7 separate regions of the Homo sapiens genome follow, and all the other regions are linked to region 7. The links are contacts of gene promoters, found by promoter capture Hi-C in blood cells and fetal thymus (Javierre and others, 2016). All regions are on one chromosome and are shown on one strand. Each heading gives the region's core, a stretch centred on a gene start or on the middle of the fragment in contact. The rest is flanking DNA. Distances are from core to core; before and after follow the strand shown. Region 1 has its middle 9.6 kb from the start of S100A10. Region 2 overlaps THEM4 (thioesterase superfamily member 4). Region 3 overlaps S100A11 (S100 calcium binding protein A11). Region 4 overlaps LOC124904421 (a long non-coding RNA gene). Region 5 has its middle 16 kb from the start of THEM5. Region 6 has its middle 7.5 kb from the start of THEM4. Region 7 holds the start of SNX27 (sorting nexin 27).

Region 1 (3,026 bases), core at 55-2,554, 390 kb after region 7:
GATTGAATATGGGGCTGGAAAGATTACCTAGTTGGCTTGAGATGGAGGCTGTGATTTAGGTTGACATCCTACCCCATTTTCTCTTGCTTTTGGCAGCATTTCTCTGGGCTTGAGCAGTGAGAAAAGTAATGCTCTGTGTACAAGACGCCAAAAAAAAATATATATATATATATATATATAGGTGAAAATAGGTTGTTAAGTTGAACTAGTGTCTGGTACCATATGGACCAAAACCTCAGTTTGAGCATAGGATTCCACCAGTTTTATTGGTTGACTTTTAAGTGAATTCATTCTAACAGCTTTGAGCACAGATATTCTGAAAGCTAAAGTGCTTAGCTGTTGGAGGATGTACTGGCTGGTAATTAGTGGGGCATCTGTGAGGTCTTGTATCATGTGACCAATGTATGGTCATATGACCAACATATGGCCATTTGATAGAAGAACACAAATGGGCTGGACACGGCTCATGCCTGTAATCTCAGCACTTTGGGAGGCCGAGGCAGGCAGATCACCTGAGGTCAGGAGTTCAAGACCAGCCTGACCAACATAGTGAAACCCTGTGTCTACTAAAAATACAAAATTAGCTTGGTGTGGTGGTGCATGCCTGTAATCCCAGTTACTTGAGAGGCTGAGGCAGGAGAATCACTTGAACCCAGGAGGCGGAGGTTGCAGTGAGCCGAGATCGCACCACTGCACTCCAGCCTGGAGACAGAGCGAGACTCTGCCAAAAACAAACAAACAAACAAACAAACAAAACAAAAAAACCCCCACAAACATACTCCAAGTCTTCTTGTTAAAAATTAACACAATAATTTTATATTCTATGAAGTTCTGTCTCATATGTTATCTTATTTGTTTCTTATGATCACTCCAAGAAATATTTTAGGTCGATTAGTGCTATGATTATAGTAATAATTATTGTGGTTTATGTATATTATCTGTAAATCTAACAAAAGCCCTGTAAAATAGATAGCCAGTCTGTTTTCAGATGTGGAAAGGAAGCTCAGAGAGGCTACATAACTTCCCTAAGGGCATTGATATAGTCCTATTGGAACCCAGATAAGCTTAGTCTCAAAGCCTCCCCTCTTGTCACCACCCGACTCTGCCTTACTCTTGGTAGAACCACAGCGATGACAGCTGCTTGGGAACATAACCACAATCTGGGCAGGAACATGAGAAGTGTTCACAACCAGCACTGAGGTGAGGTAGCATGTGTGGGCAGTGCTGCACGGGGGACTTCAGAACAGCAGGCTCCCTCTTGGCTGGACTCTTAAGAATAACTTCATGGGTGACATAGGATTTGAAGTGAGATTTGTAGGTTGGGTCAGATTTGATAGGCTTGATTGAGCATATGGGACAGGGGCTGAGAGAAGAGTAGTCCTGGGGGAGGAGTAACACGAGGGAAGATGCCAAGGGGAGTATGCACAGGACACACTGGAGGAACAGCAAGAGTGGCTAGAAAGAGGGATTGGGTGAGGGATGAGGGCTAGATTATTGATGCTTTTGAATTCCAGGCTAAAAAATTGACCACTCTGCAATGAAACCTAAGCTTTTTTTTTCTGGCTTCTGATTCTCTCTCAAAATTTACCAGTCTCTGGAGCCGCTTGTGTCTTTAAGCAGAGATCATCCTATAGCCCTCAGCTCTTCCCAGCCTCCTTCTCCTTTGATCACTGTGTTGGTAGACACAGTGAAATCATAGAGGGAGGGACCACGGCCAGCTGTGGAGGAGAGAGCAGCTGTGATGTGAGAATGGGGTGAAGCTGGGAGAAAATGAGGGCCAGGAGATGAGGGAGGCCCACCCTGGAATGATGGTGGCAAGGGTGGATGAGAAGGTACAGATTTGAGAGAAAGAACAGGAAGAATCTGCAGGCTACTGCTACTGAGCTCTTGGCCATAGGGAGAGGAAGGAGCAGAACTGCCAGAAGTTTTCAGACCTGGACACCTTGTGCTCTGGTGCCTGCCAAATGCAGGGAGGAGCACTGGTTTGGGAAGGAAGGTGCAGACTAAGCTGCTAAGCTGCTGGTGGGGTTTCTTAGGTGAAAACAACCTGCTTTGTGATTAGTCTTAAGTTGTTTGCCCCACCCCTGACGTGGTGACCTGCAAGGAAGGGTGTGTAGACACTGGTTCTCTCAGTTGTCGGTTCATAGATAACTCTTTCCTGGGCAACACTCTATGGCTCCCTGCACAGCTTACAGTCAGGCTGGAACTCTGGCAGGATGTCTGGCTCCAGCATAGTTTTCCCCAGCCAGGCTCAGCCATCTAGTGGTGAGGGCATTAGATTGGGAGTCTGTCATTTGGCTGTAGCTGCTGGGCTGGGTGCTGTGGGGAATGCACAGATGAAGGCGGCATGGTCCTTCCGTTTGAGGAATTCACACTCCAGGTGAGGAGACAAGTGGTGATGGAAGGCAGTGAAAGGAGGCCAGAAGGTAGACATACTGGCTGGGGACAGATTGTAGGACCAGACAGCCGCTAGGATTTGGCCAGATGTGATTTCCACCATGAAGCCTCCCCAACCTCACCTAGACTGGGGTTGGGTGTTGCTCCTTTAGCCTCTCGTGGCCCTTATCATAGAGTAGGGAAATTGCCTATCTGCTCATTTGTCTCCCTTGATGCTTGTTGGTTCATTGGGGAGAGATTTCTCTTGGTGTGTTGTGTGTTCTGAGCAGAGTATGCTCTCAGTGGATTTTGGCAGGAACCATAAATCAGTGATCAACACAGGATGATAAGAAGAGTGGTCCTGAGGCATCTGAGGAAGGGAAGAGTGCAATGATGGAAGTGTCCCTATAGCCCACATCAGCCTGAGCATGCTCAGTTTCTCTTTTTTGAAAAACATGACTTAAAATTTATCATCTATTCCAGCAAAGAAATGAGTTAAAATGTTTTAAAACACATTCAAACTTTTTAGCTTAATCTGTTCTTAAACCATAACAGTAAATACATTATCCGTGACTGTTGTGAAGGTCTATTCCTGATAGAAAAGCTTCCTGGTATGAGACACCTGTCCATCAACTTGACCCGACACATGA
Region 2 (3,082 bases), core at 64-2,563, 280 kb after region 7:
GGAGTTCTCTTCTGACTGCTTTTATTTTCTCTTAGTGAGATAGGAAGCGAGACCAACTGAGGGTGAGAAGGGAAAGTATTAGAGGCATAAGAAGAAAGAAAAAGGCAGAAAATACTCATCCAGTAAGGGAGGAGAGTGAATAAACTAGGGAAACATGAAGTATGGTTGTTGGGCAATATTGAGAGCCTTCTTTTTCTCTTTTTTTTTTTGTAGGGGGGGAGACAGTCTCACTCTGTTGCCCAGGATGGAGTGCAGTGGCGCGATCTCAGCTCACTGCAACCTCTGCCTCCTGGATTCAAATAATTCTTCTGCCTCAGCCTCCCAAGTAGCTGGAATTACAGGTCCCCGCCACGAGGCCCAACTAATTTTTTTTGTATTTTTAGTAGAGACGAGGTTTCACCATGTTGGCCAGGCTGGTCTTAAACCCCTGACCTCAAGTGATCCGCCCGCTTCAGTCTCCCAAAGTGCTGGGATTATAGGCATGAGCCACGGTGCCTGGCCCAAGGGCCTTCTTAAAAGTCAGTTAAAAAAAACCAACCACCACCTAAAGATGTGTTTGGATGATTAAAAGATAATGAGTAACTCAGAAATATCTGTGAATGATTCAAATATACTATAATGATGGATATCTGTCATTACACAGTTGTTAAAACCCACGGAAAACATAATACGAAGAGTGAACCCTAAAACAAACTATGGACCTTAATTAAGAATAATATATTAATATTGGCTCATCAATTGTAACAAATACACCACAGTAATGTGAGATGTTAATAATAGGAGAAATTAGGGGTGGGGAGGGGATAAAGGGTATATGGGAACTCTCTGTACTTTAGGCTAATTTTTCTATAAAATTATAATGCTAAAAAAGTATATTAGTAAAAAAACACAGAAGGATAGGAATTGCTATGTGTGTGTTTTGGGTGTTGGGTGGGTTGCCCTGGGGATTTAGATACTGGGAGATGTGGGTATAACCTGAGTGTTCTAAGCTTCTTAGGGTGATATAACCAGATATGGGATAAAGGGTGAAATGAGATTAGATGACAGCCTCAAGACGGAGAGGTGATGAGGTTGTAGGAGGGTGGAAGCTCTCTGGGGCCCTTTCTTCACTCTTGCTAATGGTGATAAGAATGCCAGGGTGGGAGCAGTCTTATTCTTGACAATAGGCTTTATGCTCTCCAATCTGCAAAATTTATTGTGATTTCTGGTCTATAAAATTGGTGACTATAGAACCATAATCCTGCATTATATTCTTTCTTTTTTTCAGGTAGTAACTAGTACTTCAATCTGTTCTTAGCTTTATATTTGATGCTCAGATATATTAATGGGAAAGTGGCTGTTTCTACCAAGAAAATGGGTTTTGAAGTCTTGAATCCATTCAGTAGGTGTACGTTTATATGAAGGCAAACGTTTCCAGGAGCCGTCTTCACATTTCTTCATAAACTGGTCAAAGAGCAGTCTTAGGTCCTTGTTCCAGCTGGGGTTGGGGACAGAACAGTCCTTAAGAATGACTTCCTCAGAAGAAAATGACCTCTAAAAGACAGAAGAAAAAGAAAAGTAAGTAATGGGAGGTGCATTCTATTTCATAACATATTCTCCCAATTTCTAAGATTATCTTGCTGCTTTTCTTCTCCCCATAAGCTTGTCACTTCAAAATGGAAGGGAATTTCAGGGATCATCTGGTCCAACCTCCTTGGGAAAATGAGAGACTGAGAGAGGGAAAATGATTTGCTCAACATCACCCAGCGAGCTATTGACAGAGCCAGGATTATGCTCAGGTCTGCTGATTCCATTCTTTTTTTCCAGACTTTAATCAAGCACAGGTAAGCCCAGCACACTGGAGATGGAGGTTAAGAACAGGCATTATCTTCCATGTTGAAAGTGCTTCCAGTGGCTATGCACAGGAAGTTAGGGGATAAGGGAGAAGTACTCATCTAGGATTAGGGGTTCAGGAAGGGGTTCTTTGACTTGAATATTGATTAGATAAGCAGAAATTAGCCAGCTGGAAAAAGTATTACAGGAAAAAAAAAAAAAACACTGGAATATAGTTTGGATGTGTGTTCCCGCTCAAATCTCATATTGAAATGTAATCCCCAAAGTTGGAGGTGGGCCCTGGTGGGAGGTGAATGGATCATGGGGGTGAATTTCTCATGGACGGTTTAGCACCATCCTCCTCGGTACTGTCCTCATGATAGTGAGTTCTCATGAGATCTGGTTGTTTAAAAGTGTATAGTACCTTGTGCCTTGCACTCTTGCTCTTGCTGTGTCCATGTGAAGTGCCTGCTCCTGCTTTGCCTTCTGCCATGACTGTAAGTTTTCTTGCTTCCTTTTTTTTTTTTTTTTTTTTTTGAGACAGAGTCCCACTCTGTTGTCCAGGCTGGAGTGCAGTGGCGCAATCTTGGCTCACTGCAACCTCCACCTCCTGGGTTCAAGTGATTCTCCTGCCTCAGCCTTCTGAGTAGCTGGAGTTACAGGTGCCGCCCCACCACACCCGGCTAATTTTTGTATTTTTAGTAGGGATGAGGTTTCACCATGTTGGACAGGCTGGTCTCGAACTTCTGACCTTAGGTGATCTGCCCACCTCGGCCTCCCCAAGTGCTGGGATTACAGGAGTGAGCCACTGTGCCCGGCTGACTGTAAGTTTTCTGAGCCCTCCCCAGCAGCCAAGCAGATGCCACCATCATGCTTCCTGTATAGCCTGTAGAAATGTGAGTCAATTAAACTTCTTTTCTTTATAAATTACGCAGCCTCAGGCATTTCTTTATAGCAATGTGAGAACAGCCTAATGCAGTGGGCAAAAGAGGCATGAAACAGTTTTGAGGGGCCTTATTACAATCATATGAAGTAGGTACTATTTATTATCCTCATTTTGCAGATGATGAAATTAAGGCCTAAAAGAAGTTTGGCATTATTAGGGTGCAAGAATAGGGGCAGATGGCTGCAGAAATGCATGTAAAACCTTAACACTAAGCTAACTGGCTTGAATTGTATCTGCAGTGCTCTCTGAGGGATTTTAAATGGGGGGTAACATGATTAGATCTTTCCATAATATAAAAGATAGTGGGAGTGTCCAAGGTTGAAA
Region 3 (2,896 bases), core at 120-2,619, 420 kb after region 7:
TCATCTCTTGGGTTTTACCTCTTACATACTCTTCCCCTCCCTTCCCGCTTCATTGCCTTATTTCAGATTCTTAACTGACCCATTTTACCATCTCTCCATTCTCTCTCTCTTAAAAAAAAATGTTGACTTGTGGCCGTAGAACGATGAATGTCCAAGGCCTATGGATAATTCTAATAGCCCACACACTTGGGCACCAACCCAACAGTGGGATCATGTGTTCACTAAGAGTGTATTTGTGATCGGTCCCAAACCTGTTTATATTCTTTTTTTTCTTTCTTTTTTTTTGAGACGGAGCTTGCTCTGTTGCTAGGCTGGAGTGCAGTGGTGTGATCTGAGCTCACCGCAACCTCCACCTCCCGCGTTCAAGTGATTCTCCTGCTTCAGCCTCCCAAGTAGCCGGGATTACAGGCGCCCGCCACCACACCCGGCTAATTTTTGTATTTTTAGTAGAGACAGGGTTTCACCAAGTTGGCCAGGATGGTCTCGATCTCTTGACCTCGTGATCTGCCTGCCTCAGCCTCCCAAAGTGCTTGGATTACAGGCGTGAGCTACCGCGCCTGGCCCGTTTTTCTTGTAAGGTATAATTTAATTAAATATCCCATAAACCAATAAAATATGTATGTGAAGAGATAGTTTTTATCTTTATGAAAGTCAAATTGAATTCTTTTCAAAGACTGGATGATTCAAATGTACTGAAGATAATTGCAGTTGCTACAGGTATAGCTGAGACAACTGTAAACGGCTGAGGCAGTGGCTCACCCTAAGGTGCTGGCCTTCATTTTGGAATGTCAGAGCCAAAAATGACCTCAGATATGGTCTAATCCATCTCACTGAATTTATGAAGGAATAAACCATAATCTAGAGAGATTTTTGCTAATTAGTTAAAACTCACATAAATGGATAAGGAATCAGAGGTTTTCTGGATACACATCACTTTTTCGCTGTGCTTCTTAGGAATAATTGCACATTGCGGAAACCTGCCCCTCTTTCTCTCTCTCTCCTCTAATCTGTCATCTTTAACCCTGGATCAGTCTTCTTACCTTCTTTCTAGGCTCTCTTTCCCTGCTGCTTTATCAGAGGGCTTAGAAAATTAAAACTAGTGTTAACACTAGCTTAAGCCAAACATGAAGACCTTGGCAACACGAGCCTCCTTTCTATTCCACAAACATCCTAGATCCTTCTTATCTTTGGAGGACCTCTGCCCTTCCCATTTCTTCTCTTGAAATGCCCTCTTCTTCTTTTCAAATGTTTGCTCTTTCTAGTTCTTCATATCTCAGCACAAATGTCATGTCCTCAGAATAGTGCCCTCTTAGTCCCCATGAATCTGTAACATAATTGTAATCTGTCCTTCCTAGGATTTATCATACTCTGATAGTCCTTTGTTTATTTAGTCATTGTTCTCTCCCCCAACGAGAAGTTATACTCAGTGAAGGCATGACCTTGTCTGTCTTGCTGGTTGTATTCTCAGGATCTATGACAGTGCCAACGGGTAGCAGTGAGTAAACAATAACAATAAGTGACAACTCTCCATCAGTCAATAATTTAGAGATGAATCTGGTTGTACTATTAGTCATGATTATGTGTACACCCAAGATGCATTTTTTCTTATTTACTATGCAGCTTCTATCAATCTAATTTATATTCCTCCCACTTTCCACCCTCCCATGCACAAATTCACCAACTCTCTAGTTCATGTTTTAAAAAAGTGACATTGCTTTATTACTATTGGCAGGTGGGGCCTGCATGAGGTGGTTAGTGTGCTCAGGGGATGGGTGGGCTGTGGAGATGATGACAGAAAGGCTGGAAGGAAAGGGGGTGGGTTTGAAGGCCAGGGCCAAGGGGTCCTCAGGTCCGCTTCTGGGAAGGGACAGCCTTGAGGAAGGAGTCATGGCAAGCCATAGCTAGGCCACCAATCAGATTAAGAAATTCTGAGAAATCTAGCTGACCATCACTGTTGGTGTCCAGTTTCTTCATCATGCGGTCAAGGACACCAGGGTCCTTCTGGTTCTGCAGAGAAAATAATAATTACACCTTTATATCGCATCTTCTAATGTGCTTTCAAATATGCTGCCACATTTTATTCTCACAGGAGTATAAGGTACAGGATAGGGATTATTAATATTCCCATTTGCCAGATGCAGAAACAGACTAAAAGAGGTGAAGTGACCTGCCTAAGGGGCAGACCTGGGCCTTGAACCAAAGGTTTTCCCACTCCTAGTCCAGGGCTCTTTCTATGATATTAGGGGCTATTCAGTTTTGTAAAGCCAGTGGAACACTTCTTTCAAGTGTTGCATGCAACTCCAATAGATAAACTATATAAAAGTACAGCGGGTTCAGGTGGAAAAAGGCCACAGGCCCTGCCTAATCAGTCTCATCCTCCACTTGCCCAAGCTGCCAACACAGATACAGACTTAGAGCCACTGGTTACAAATGGCTATTTACATTTACATTTACATTAACTAATTTAGAAAGTCAGTCTGTTAGTCACACTAGCCACATTTCAAGCACTCAGCAGACACATGTGGCTGGTGGCTACCATGTTGGATAGAGCAGATATAGAATGTATTTCCACCACTGCAGAAAGTTCTACTGGACAGGGCTGCCATAGAACCTCTGGGGTAGAATAATGAAATTTGAAAATAATTCCATTACGTCATATACCATTTCATATATCTCTCTTCCTAAATGGAAAAACTCCTGGCTTAGAGTGAGTTAAAATGAAGCAAGAGTGTGGGGTGTCAGTTGCTGCTCCTTCATTCCTGGCCATTCTGCCAGGGTCTTGTTTCATGTTGTGGGTAGTTTGGGGAAGTGGGGGAGACAGGGACCAGTACCTTTGTGAAGGCAGCTAGTTCTGTATTCATGAAGCTTAGGAACTCTGTCTTGGAGAGAGTGTAGT
Region 4 (2,818 bases), core at 273-2,772, 320 kb after region 7:
TCTGTCGTCCCATTTTCTGTAACTCTTCCGCACCTTTCTTCCTTGCACCCTACACCCTTGTTATTACATTGGGCCTGCCCATGTAATCCAGGATAATCTTCCCATCTCAAGATCCTTACTTAATCACATCTGCAAATCCCTTTTGCCATGTGTGGTAACGTATTCACAGACTCCAGAGACTTACTTGGACCTTTTTGGGGGCCCATTATTCTGACCTCCACAAGTGTATTTAGATAATTATCTATTCTTCCATTTATTTTTGTCCTGAATCTTCTGGATTTTTGGTTAGTAGGTAAAATTTTTGACTATTATAAATTTCCTTTGAGTAATTAGGAAGATTTTATACATTTTAAATTATTTCCTGGTAAACTTTTAGGCTGATATTCGTCAATAAATGAACAGGTTATATCTATCTCAATACCTAACAGTTTATTCTTTAAGTGATGACTATTATCTAATTAGGGACTTGGAAGAACTTCAAAGCTTAGTCTTCTAGATTTTACAAAGTGATAGATTGCTCTATTATTTATCATTTTGTTTCCAAACTGAGTATAAAATAGTCAATAGATACGTAAAATGAGACCTCAGAGCTGTTTCCTCTTTTGCAAAGTGAGCGATAAGATGCTCCCCACCTCTCTGTCCAGTTCTTACATTCAATAGAAAGACTAAATACGCCTAGAAGACAATGAAATACGTTGAGTGACTCAAAGTTGCTCAGAAATTACCATGAGGAATACCCATCCTAGCTTTCCTTGAACCCTGGACTGCAGTGCTCATCACCATCAAATCTCATGGAATATCTGGTGGGCTAGATTTTGAGTTGTTGCTTTTTGGGTACTCTGCCAGGTGGTATTGTACAGCAGACACATTAAAAGTGACTGAAGTGCAATATTTGTGTCCTCCCCTGAGTGGGATTAGGATCAGAGAAAGTAGGTTCTAAGACATAGAAACCTGTCATGTGAAAAGTCTTTAGGTGAACAAACTGCAGAAAATTTACGGTTGCAAGAAAAAAGTACAATGAGTTCTAAGACCCTCCTGGAAAATGAGGTTGAGTCATTCTGAGGATAGTGCTTCTCACAGGGGAGCTGGGAGGGGAAGGAGGCAGGGCAGAGCTGGCAGCTGCAGGAAGCATGGGCTCTGCCTGTAGGATTTTTCATTCCATAGCAGAAACCACGGAAACTGCAGCCATCTTCATCATGGAGAGGGCTGGGGAAAACAAAGTGGGGAGAATAAAGAACGGGAGATTATCACAAGACTATTACTTATATTCCCTTGGTTTCTGGTATCACAAGGGTTGTAGAGCACTTAACAATTTTTTTTTTCCTTGAGACGGTCTCGCACCCAGGCTGGAGTGCAGTGGCATGAACATAACTCACTGCAGCCTCGACCTCCCAGGCTCAAGCAATCTTCTCGCCTTAGTTCCCCAAGTAGCTAGGCGCACACCAACATGCCCAACTAATTTTTGTATTTTTTGTAGAGACGGGGTTTTGACATGTTGCCCAGGCTGGTCTCGAACTCCTGAGCTCAAGCAATCTGCCTGCCTCAGCCTCCCAAAGTGTTGGGATTACAGGCGTGAGCCACCGTGCCTGGCCACAATATATTTTTCTCTTTGGAATGAGGTAATAAAAGCAACCACTTACTGAGGAGCTCCCAGTACTAGATATTAAATGAGCCACTTTTTTCAAGTTCAACAGAGTTTAAAGGTAAAAGAAAGAGAGACATTTTATACCCATAATGTCATTTAATTCTCACACATCTATTTAGATACCTCCATTTTTAAACGTGAGGAAACAGCTCCAAGAGATTTATGAGCTTTCCCAAGATCACACAACTAGTAAGTTATGGAGCAGGAATTAAAACCAAAATCTCTCTGACAAGTTTCATGCTTTTTAACTAAATCACAGCAAACTACACTACCAGTCTTTTATACATGTTGGTGAAATCTCTCAATAAATATGGAGAGTGCCAAAGCTAATCTCATTATCATTCCCAGAAACATACTGGAACAGGAATTAAAAGAAATTAAGGAGTGTATAAGCAAAAACTCAGTTGTATATTAAAAAACCCAATTCCCCCTGAGAAAGAGAAAGAGCTGGAGTCCTTTAAAAATTAACTGCCTGTTTTTCTGTGGCCAATAAGCCTTATCTCTCCTCCTTTCCCAAACATTGTAAAAACCCTGTTTCCCTAGCTATACAACTACAAAGTCACTAAACAAACTCAAGTCATAAAACATGTTTCTCCTTAAAAAATAAAAAATAATATAATACGTCTCAATTAACTAAATAACTGCCTTTGTTTCTCTCTTCTATAATATGCTTCCCCCTGCACAAATCTCCCCCTGCCCCCAAAAATACTTAAAAAATAACTCTTTATTCAAAACTCAGTCCTTTAAATATTAATCCGACTGGGCCAATACACCTAAATAGTTAATAAATATCCTTCTAAACCCCATCAGTCTCTCTAATTCCTTAAAAATCGCGCAACAATACAACTGTTGAAACCTGTACTTACTCTCTCATTGTTAGACCCAGGTTTCTATATGAAGGTCAAACATGGTCTGATAAGCTTCGTTAAGTAAAAGAAAGCAAGTAGCCTTGAGGTCCCGCAGGGAGCATCAGACACCCCCTGAAGCTTGCGACTCATTTATCTTTAGCACAGTTCAATAGGGCCAAAGGGCACGGTGATAGGGATAGCCCTCTGTTGGGGGATGAAGGGTAGGAGTAAGACAAAGGGAAACTTCCAGATGGAGAGAGGAGATGTCTCAATTTCCTCCCTGCTGTTTCCCTATCACGTTTCCCTTTCTTTTCTTCCTAACACT
Region 5 (2,731 bases), core at 3-2,502, 260 kb after region 7:
CCGAGACTGGGTAAATTTCTAAAGGAAAGAAGTTTAATTGACTCGCAGTCCTGCATGGCTGGGGAGGACACAGGAAACTTACAATCATGGCAAAAAGGAAAGAAAACACATCCTTCCTGACATAGCAGGAGAGAGAAGTGCTGAGTGAAGTGGGGAAAAGCCCTTTATAAAACCATCAGATCTCATGAGAATGCACTCACTACCACGAGAACAGCATGGGGGAACTGCCCCCATGATCTAATCACCTTCCACAAGGTCCTGTCCCCAACACATGGGGATTACAATTTGGATTACAATTCAAGATGAGATTTTGGGTGGGGACACAGCCAAACCATATCAATCACTAATCTATTTTCTGTCTCTATGGAGTTGCCTATTCTAAATATAGTATTGTTTTCTTTCACTTAATGTGATGCTTTTGAGGTTTATCCAAGCTGCAGCATGTTTCAGTATTTCATTCCTTTGTATGGCTGAATAATAGTCTATTATGTGTGTGTGTGTGTGTACTACAATTTGTTTATCTATTCATTCATTAATGGCCATTTGGGTTGTTTCCACATTTTGGCTATTACGAATAATGCTATTATAAACACTAGTGTACAAGCTTCTGTGTGGATGCGTGTTTTCATTTCTCTTTTATTTATACCTAGCAGTGGAATTGCTGGGTCATATAGTAATTGTATGTCTTTTTGGGGAACTGCCAAATTTTCCGTAGCAGCTGCATTATTTTATATTCACCCAGCAATGTATGAAGTTTCTATTTTTTTTTTTTACATCCTCCTTGACACTGTTTTTAAAAACGAAAAATTATAGACCAGCCTGGCCAAGATGGTGAAACCCCATCTCTACTAAAAATACACAAAAAAATTAGCCAGGTGTGGTGGTGGGTGCCTGTAATCTCAGTTACTTGGGAGGCTGAGGCAGGAGAATCACTTGAACCTGGGAGGCGGAGGTTGCAGTGACCCCAGGTCGCGCCATTGCATTCCAACCTAGACAACAAGGGCGAAACTCCATCTCAAAAAAAAAAAATAAAATAAAATAAAAAAATTATAGGCATTTTAGTAGGTGTGGTCATTGTGGTTTTGATTTGCATTTTTCTAATGATTAGTGATGTTGAGGCTCTTTTCATATACTTGTTAGCCATTTCCATTTCCATATCTTCTTTGGAGAAATGTCCATTCAAGTTCTTCCCCCATTTTTAAACTGGGTTCTTTGTTGTTGAGTTGTAAGAATTCCTTATATATTCTGAATGCGAACACCTTTTTGGATATATAATTTGCAAATATTTTTCCCATTCTGTAGGGATTTTTTTTCACTTCACTGATATTATTCTTTAATGCACAAAAGATGAATTTTTTTTTTTTTTTTTTGAGATGGAGTCTTGCTCTGTCGCCCAGGCTAGAGTGCAGTGGCGCAATCTCGGCTCACTGCAAGCTCCGCCTCCCGGGTTCATGCCATTCTCCTGCCTCAGCCTCCTGAGTAGCTGGGACTACAGGCACCCGCCACCATGCCTGGCTAATTTTTTGTATTTTTAGTAAAGATGGGGTTTCACCATGTCAGCCAGGATGGTCTCGATCTCCTGACCTTGTGATCCGCCTGCCTCGGCCTCCCAAAGTGCTGGGATTACAGGCTTGAGCCACCGCACCCAGCCAATGAAGTTTTGTACCCTGCAATTTTGCTGAATTTATTTATTAGTGCTAGTTTTGTTTTTTTGGTGAATTCTTTGGGATTTTCTATATGTAGACATGTCATCTGCAAATAGAGATAATTTTACATCTTCCTTTCTAATTTGCAAGCTGTTTTTGTTTTTCTTGCTTAATTCCTCTGGGTAAGACTTCCAGTACTATATTGAATAGCAGTAGTGAAGGTGGAAATCCTTACCTTTTTCCTAACGTTAGGGGAAAGCTTTCTGTCTTTTATCACTGAGTGTGATACCAGCTGTGCATTTTTCTAGATTATGTTCAGGTAGTCTTTTTCTATTCCTAGTTTTCTGAGTGCTTTTTGTCATGAAAGGGTGTTGGATTTTGTCAAATGCCATTCCTTGCACCAATTGAGATGATCATGTGGTTTTACTCTCTTGAAGTATAAATGTGGTGTATTACATTGATTTATTTTCTTATGTTGAACCACCTCTGCCTTTCTGGGATAAATCTCACTTGGTCATAGCATATAATCTTTTTAATGTGCTATTGGATTTGCTTGTTATCTTGTTGAGTATTTTTGCATCTATACTCGTAAGGGATATTGATCTGTAGTTTTGACTTTTTTTTTCCTCTTATGGTATCTTTGTCTGCAGTCCACTTAATTTTAAATCTATAATTGAGAAGGAATAAACCAATTCTGTAATTCTAAACTGGCCAGAGTAGTGCCAGACCAAGAATACTATCAAGTGAAATTTCAAACTTTTCTGAGACATAAAATTCATGACTTTAGTGACTTAAATTTGAAAGATTGCCTCATTGTCTCCATCACAGAGGATGTTGTATACTTGGTCCTGAAAAATATGTTTGACTAGGGTCCCATGATGGTCATCCATTAGGTAAGACAATAATTTGGCTTCATAAGTCCCCAGAAGAGGTTAAGCGTCCTGAGAAGGTAATGGGATAGGGAACATAGGAACATGTAGGATATGAGCTTCCTTAATACAGAAGAAAAGGTTTTTCTTAACTTATATATTTCATTCCATCTTCCCATTAGAGAAAAAACTTAATCTTATTTTGCTTTTTGAAAA
Region 6 (2,857 bases), core at 220-2,719, 310 kb after region 7:
AGGCTGGGGCTTCAAGATCCCAAAGGACTCTATTCTCCTATATGTGTTTAGAGATCACTCTGGAGGAAATGGAGAGCTACAGGGAGACTGTTACTAGAGGACTGGCATTATCTGATTGATATTTTAGAAGGATCATGATAGAGGCTCCGGGGAAATTGCATTGGAATCAAGGAAACACTTGAGTGCTTTGTGGGGATTGATAGAGTGAGGGGATTTGGTAATGGATGAGGCCAAGGGCAGGGGAAAGAAGGAGGACTAAGATGTTATCCAGGTTTCCTGGACTACAAATTGTGGAGGTACCCTTTAGAAAGGGAAAAGGAGGAGTATGTTTAGGGGCACAGGGAAGAAAAGTGAGTTCTTTTCTGGATACGTTGTGTTGAAGGTACCGCAGAGATAATAGAATAGTTTGGAACTTAAGATAAAGGCCTGAAAGTGTCCTTTTTTTAGAACACAGAACATATTAGAGACATCAGTAAGAGCAGCTGAGGTGGGGAGGTGAGGCTGGAGGAATGAGTGGGAGGTAAACATACAAACAGGAGTAGACTGACTACTCTTCAGACCTCTTATAGTGAGAAGAGAGGACAGCAGCCAGAGGTGAAGAAAGGATTGTTTTTAAAGAAACATGGTGCTTTCTGTTTTTTAAATACTGAGAAGAAAGTCTAACGATCAAGTTTGATGAGACTAAATTTATGTTGCAAACATATGAGTCTTATAGTGTTTATCTTTGATAGAAATGGGGGTGACTGTAAAGAGAATAATTATGTTTCTGAGGAAAAACTATAGTACACCTGTTATTAGGTTTTACTCCTATTCATTGTTTTCAAATTTTTATTGTCTACCTGTATACCGGACTGGATCCTGTATTCTAGTTTCCTTCAGTATCTGGCTATAATTTTCCAACTAAGAACAAAAATTGCTCTGTTCCTAAAGCCCCAGAGCTGAAGCTGGACAACTCAATGTAAATTTTAAGGGACAAGCCTCATGCCCGATGTGTGGACCACACCAAGTTCACCAAACTGCCCGATGCCATAACCAGAGACATTCAAACTACAAACCCACATGAGTTGTTAACTTTATCATGGGGAGTTTTTCTCAAGACTGTCGGAACAGCTGAGTGCAATGGCTCATGCCTGTAATCCTAGTGCTTTGGGAGGCTGAGGCAGGTGAATTGCTGGGCCCAGGAGTTTGACACTAGCCTGGGCAACGTGGCGAAATCTCGTCTCTAAAAAAAATACAAAAATTAGCCAGGCACGGTGGTGCATGCCTGTAGTCCCGGCTACTCAAAAGGCTGATGTGGGAGGATGACTTGAGCCCAGGAGGTGGAGGTTGCAGTGAGCTGAGATCATGCCACTGCCACTGCACTCCAGTCTGGGTGACAGAGCTAGACCCTGTCTCCAAAAAACAAACAAACAAATAAACAAACAGACAAAACTGTCAGAACAAGACCCTGCCATAATGAGACTATTATTTCCCTTAATTTTTCCTTGTTTATGCCTATCTTTTTTGTCTGGCAGAATAATGCTATCGTTAGAATTTCACAATCAGTAGCTTCTGTGGGTGACTTGCAAATTGTCATTCCATACTTTAACTCAGTCATGAGATTTTCTATTAGCTGAACAAGAAGGAATCATTGCAGTTGCTAACACTTCTTGTTGCACAGGGATAAATACATCAGGTATCATAGAGACTGGGCTGAAAAAATAGACTGGCTACTTGGTTAAGATCGATATACTCCTCATCTGGCTCATTCTTCAATCTATTCTATTTTAGTTGGTTTGTTTCATGAGGACCCTAGCTAAGGAGCATACTCCAGACTCTTGATAATATCCTCCTGAGAGTAATAATAGTAGTCTGTCTGTTGCACTGTATGCTCTCAAAAAGTTTTAAATGTTTGTGGCCGGGTGTGGTGGCTCACACCTGTAATCACAGCACTTTGAGAGGCTGAGGTGGGCGGACCACCTGAGGTCAGGATTTCGAGACCAGCCTGGCCAACATGGTGAAACCCTGTCTGTACTAAAAATACAAAAATTAGCTGGACATGGTGGTGCGTGTCTGTAGTCTCAGCTACTCGTGAGGCTGAGGCAGGAGAATCGCTTGAACCTGGGAGGCAGAGGTTGCAGTGAACTGAGATCACACCACTGCACTCCACCAGGGTGACAGAGCGAGACTCCATCTCAAAAAAAAAAAGTTTTAAATGTTTGCATACAGCCATCTGTTGAATGTCAAATAGTCTGTCTTTGGCTGGAATAACAAAAAACTCAAAGAAATGCATGATGATGAGGACACTAACCTATGAATGATGTGTTGAGACTGGAAACCTAAAATGATGGTAACTGAGACTAGTGCCAATGCCCTTAGTTTTGGTCAGGTTCTCACTTGAGCCTTGACCAAAAGGGGAAAATTGTTAAATAAAAATTATAGGAGGCCATTGTTTTGGACTAAGCTCCTGCACTAGGCCCCAGCAGATCAGAATAAAAATCAAAATGGAGCCAGTCATACTAAAGTTTAATGTAACCAAACCAAAACTAAGTTGTTATTTGATCTTCCTAGAAATCAGGAGAGAGAGAACAGCTTAATTTCCCAAACGGGCATGATAATAAAGTTTCGTCTGCCCTAATCATTACCAAAAAATGTAACCTGATGTTAACAATTAGTTATTTCTCCATTGTTCTGTTTCCTCTTCTCACTGTACAAGGAAAGTAACTGTGAAATGAGTTATCCGCTCTTTGTTCTTTGTTTCTGCTTTCTTCAGCCCTTCTGTCTGTAAAACCAATCTCCTCTGCTCAGCTCATTGGAACACTATTCTGTTTTATAGAATGAGGTTTTGTTTTATTCTAGAATTGCAAATAAAGCCAAT
Region 7 (2,787 bases), core at 153-2,652:
ATCTGGATCATCAATTTCACTGTCTTCCACCTCCATCTCTTGTCTCACTGGAAGGTCTTCATGGGTAATAACATGCACAGAGCTGTCATCTGATGGTAACAATAACTGGGGCCAGGCACAGTGGCTCACACCTGTAATCCCAGCACTTTGGGAGGCTGAGGTGGTTGGATCACCTGAGGTCAGGAGTTCGAGACCAGCTTGGCCAACATGGTGAAACCCTGTCTCTACTAAAAATACCAAAAAATTAGCCAGGCATGGTGGCGCATGCGTTTAATCGCAAGGGATTTGGGAGGCTGAGGCAGGAGAATCACTTGAACCTGGGAGGCAGAGGTTGCGGTGAGCCGATATCGTGCCATTGCATTCCAGCCTGGGCGATAAGAGCGAAACTCCATCTTAAAAAAAAAAAAAACAAAAAAACAAAACAAAACAAAAAAACACAATACTTGGAATACGTGGAAAAAAATCACAATACTTAGAATACCTAGAATACCTTCTGAAGGACCTGCCTGAGGCTGCTTTACAGTTAACTTAAAAAAAAAAGTAGAAGGAGTACACTCTAAAATAGTGATAAAAACTACAGTGAATTCATAAACTAGTAACATAGTTCTTACCATTATCAAGTATTATGTACTGTACATAATCATATGTGCTATACTTTCACATGACTGGCAGTGCAGGTTTGTTAACACCAGCATCACTCCAAACATGTGAGTAATGCTTGTGCTATGACCTTATGGTGGCTACTGTGCCACTAGGTGATAGACATTTTTCAGCTCCATTATCATCTTAGGGGGCCTCCCTCGTGTTTGCAGTCCATTGTAGACCAAAATGTCCTTATGTGGCACATGACTGTAGTTGCAATACAGGACAAGAAAGTTGCACAATAACTGGGCCTTAGTTCCTGATACTTAGTAGCTGGATGACTTTGAGCACTCTAAGGTTGTTTCCTAATAACGTAAAATAGGGAAGCTAATCGTGATCCGGTTGCCTCACAGGTTGTTGGGCCCTGGTCAACATATAAGTTACTGTGCCAAAAAATGAGTTGATATAATTTAAGACTGTGTTGAATCACAAACGTTAAGTTATTCTAACATTATTGTTTTTTAGAGGTTATGAAATGAAAGGGGGGGGGGCGAAAAACTTGGTCCGCATCAAGAACTGAATCATTTTACCACGCTGGGTGCTGGGTTATACTCTCCCCACCCAGCAGATCAAACTCCTAACCCAGCATGAAAGATAAACTACAACTCCCGGCAGGCCTTGCTTCCGAACTGCGTCTTATAACCTCGGCTCAGGCCCAGGCCCAGACCGCTCCCCGCCCCCGCCACCCATAAACTACATCTCCCAGGAGGCCCCACGGTGCCCGATTGTCCGCTTTTCGCCCGCCCCCTGCCTCCTCTTCACCCCGCGCCAGCAGCTCGGTGGCCGAGTCGGTCCCGCGGCCGGCGGATCGGGCGCGCGCGTCGGGGGTCGTCCGGCTGCCAGGCAGGGCGAGCACGCGCCGGGAGGCCTTGGAGGCGTAGGGGGCGGGGGTACGGCTCGCCTGCTCGCAAGATGGCGGACGAGGACGGGGAAGGGATTCATCCCTCAGCCCCTCACAGGAACGGAGGTGGCGGCGGCGGCGGGGGGTCTGGGCTCCACTGCGCCGGGAACGGCGGCGGGGGAGGCGGCGGCCCGCGGGTCGTGCGCATCGTCAAGTCCGAGTCCGGCTACGGCTTCAACGTGCGGGGCCAAGTGAGCGAGGGCGGGCAACTGCGGAGCATCAACGGGGAGCTGTACGCGCCGCTGCAGCATGTGAGCGCCGTGCTGCCCGGGGGGGCGGCCGATCGGGCCGGGGTGCGCAAGGGGGACCGCATCCTGGAGGTGTGAGTATCGGGGCTACCCGCCGCCCCATCCTCCCCGCGCCCCTCCTGCCCCTGCACTCCTCGCTACCCTTGTCACCCCCAGGCCGCACCTCCCCCGAGCTCCGAGCCGGCCTCCGGACCCCCGCCCCTCAGGCCTCCGCAGCCGGGCCCCTCCTTGTGGGCTGCCCTCCCACCACCCGCCCCGGGGCTTCTGCGACGCCGGTCTCCCACCCCGTCGTCTCCAGCTGATGCCCTTGCGCCCCCAGTGCTCCTCCCTGTGCCCCGATTACTCTGGGCTCTTCTCCGCCCCTTTGCCTTCCCGTTTGGCGTGCTGCATTCTGCTCCTCACTCCCCCTCGTCTTGCTCAGAAGGAACCTCATCTGCTCCTTACTGACGGCGTTTCGTTTTCTGATCCAGCCAGTACCGTGTCCCCCCCAAGTTCTCATCTTCAGCATCGCAGTTTCGTTCTCCACCACTCCCCTCCGCCCCCGTGGACTGCCCCTTCTGCCCTCCAGACCAAGTAGGCAGGACCTCTGGTCTGCTCCTACTTTTCCTCCGGAAACACCATCCCTCCCCGCTCGTCTCCTTTTTCTTTCCTTAGTTACCCTCTCCTCATGGTTACGCTGCCCCTAAATTTTTCCATCCCACCGTGTGCCCCTTTCCTCCCCTCCTTTTTGTATTTCTACTCCAAGAGTTTACCTTGCTTTCTGACCCTTGCATGCCTTTGGGGTGGGGGGCGTGGGATTTGACACCGTAGTTTCTCTTCTCGGTTGGCCCCGTATCACACCCTAATTTGGAATCTAGCGTCTCCATCAGCACACCCCTCTGAGAGCATCCCTTCCCTGGCCTCCTGCCTTCACTCCTGCTCTATACTCATGCCTCCTCCTAGTCAGGTTTATGGTAGACCCCTTGTAACTCCTCCTCCTTCAAAACTACTTCAAGC

What was found. The method cuts DNA at HindIII sites, captures the fragments that hold promoters and counts their contacts. A CHiCAGO score of 5 or more calls a contact.
Region 1: a contact is called between a fragment that was not itself captured here and the fragment with the promoter of SNX27 in region 7, in 1 of 17 cell types (fetal thymus). The highest score is 5.1, in fetal thymus.
Region 2: a fragment that was not itself captured here is called in contact with the fragment with the promoter of SNX27 in region 7 in 2 of 17 cell types (naive CD8 T cells and M2 macrophages); the score reaches 5.2 in naive CD8 T cells.
Region 3: a fragment that was not itself captured here is called in contact with the fragment with the promoter of SNX27 in region 7 in 2 of 17 cell types (neutrophils and non-activated CD4 T cells); the score reaches 5.3 in neutrophils.
Region 4: a fragment that was not itself captured here is called in contact with the fragment with the promoter of SNX27 in region 7 in 1 of 17 cell types (M2 macrophages); the score reaches 5.0 in M2 macrophages.
Region 5: a contact is called between a fragment that was not itself captured here and the fragment with the promoter of SNX27 in region 7, in 3 of 17 cell types (M1 macrophages, M2 macrophages and total CD8 T cells). The highest score is 5.9, in M1 macrophages.
Region 6: a fragment that was not itself captured here is called in contact with the fragment with the promoter of SNX27 in region 7 in 3 of 17 cell types (M2 macrophages, naive CD8 T cells and total B cells); the score reaches 6.2 in M2 macrophages.

Annotation. Positions count from the first base shown.
Region 1 is chr1:152,001,993-152,005,018 of GRCh38, forward strand. No RefSeq gene overlaps it. Among named protein-coding and RNA genes, the nearest start is that of S100A10, 9.6 kb to the left of the region's middle. The HindIII fragment of the contact is 485 bases long and covers 1,063-1,547 here.
Region 2 is chr1:151,893,662-151,896,743 of GRCh38, forward strand. THEM4 (thioesterase superfamily member 4) reads right to left here. Exons shown (of 6, transcript NM_053055.5): 2 at 1,347-1,533. Among named protein-coding and RNA genes, the nearest start is that of THEM4, 14 kb to the right of the region's middle. The HindIII fragment of the contact is 652 bases long and covers 988-1,639 here.
Region 3 is chr1:152,030,817-152,033,712 of GRCh38, forward strand. It overlaps S100A11 (S100 calcium binding protein A11), which reads right to left. Exons shown (of 3, transcript NM_005620.2): 2 at 2,832-2,896; 3 at 1,690-2,007. The coding sequence ends at 1,846. Among named protein-coding and RNA genes, the nearest start is that of S100A11, 4.7 kb to the right of the region's middle. The HindIII fragment of the contact is 2,987 bases long and covers 1-2,863 here.
Region 4 is chr1:151,934,248-151,937,065 of GRCh38, forward strand. The region is part of intron 1 of LOC124904421 (a long non-coding RNA gene); the gene reads right to left. Among named protein-coding and RNA genes, the nearest start is that of THEM4, 26 kb to the left of the region's middle. RefSeq lists an enhancer at 2,331-2,818. The HindIII fragment of the contact is 2,082 bases long and covers 482-2,563 here.
Region 5 is chr1:151,868,117-151,870,847 of GRCh38, forward strand. No RefSeq gene overlaps it. Among named protein-coding and RNA genes, the nearest start is that of THEM5, 16 kb to the left of the region's middle. The HindIII fragment of the contact is 1,301 bases long and covers 603-1,903 here.
Region 6 is chr1:151,915,614-151,918,470 of GRCh38, forward strand. No RefSeq gene overlaps it. Among named protein-coding and RNA genes, the nearest start is that of THEM4, 7.5 kb to the left of the region's middle. The HindIII fragment of the contact is 3,893 bases long and covers 1-2,857 here.
Region 7 is chr1:151,610,648-151,613,434 of GRCh38, forward strand. It overlaps SNX27 (sorting nexin 27), which reads left to right and starts at 1,403. Exons shown (of 12, transcript NM_001330723.2): 1 at 1,403-1,865. The coding sequence starts at 1,555. LOC124904420 (a long non-coding RNA gene) reads right to left here and starts at 2,721. Exons shown (of 2, transcript XR_007066622.1): 1 at 2,544-2,721; 2 at 1-1,752. RefSeq lists an enhancer at 1,179-1,278 and a silencer at 1,319-1,758. The HindIII fragment of the contact is 5,045 bases long and covers 1-2,787 here.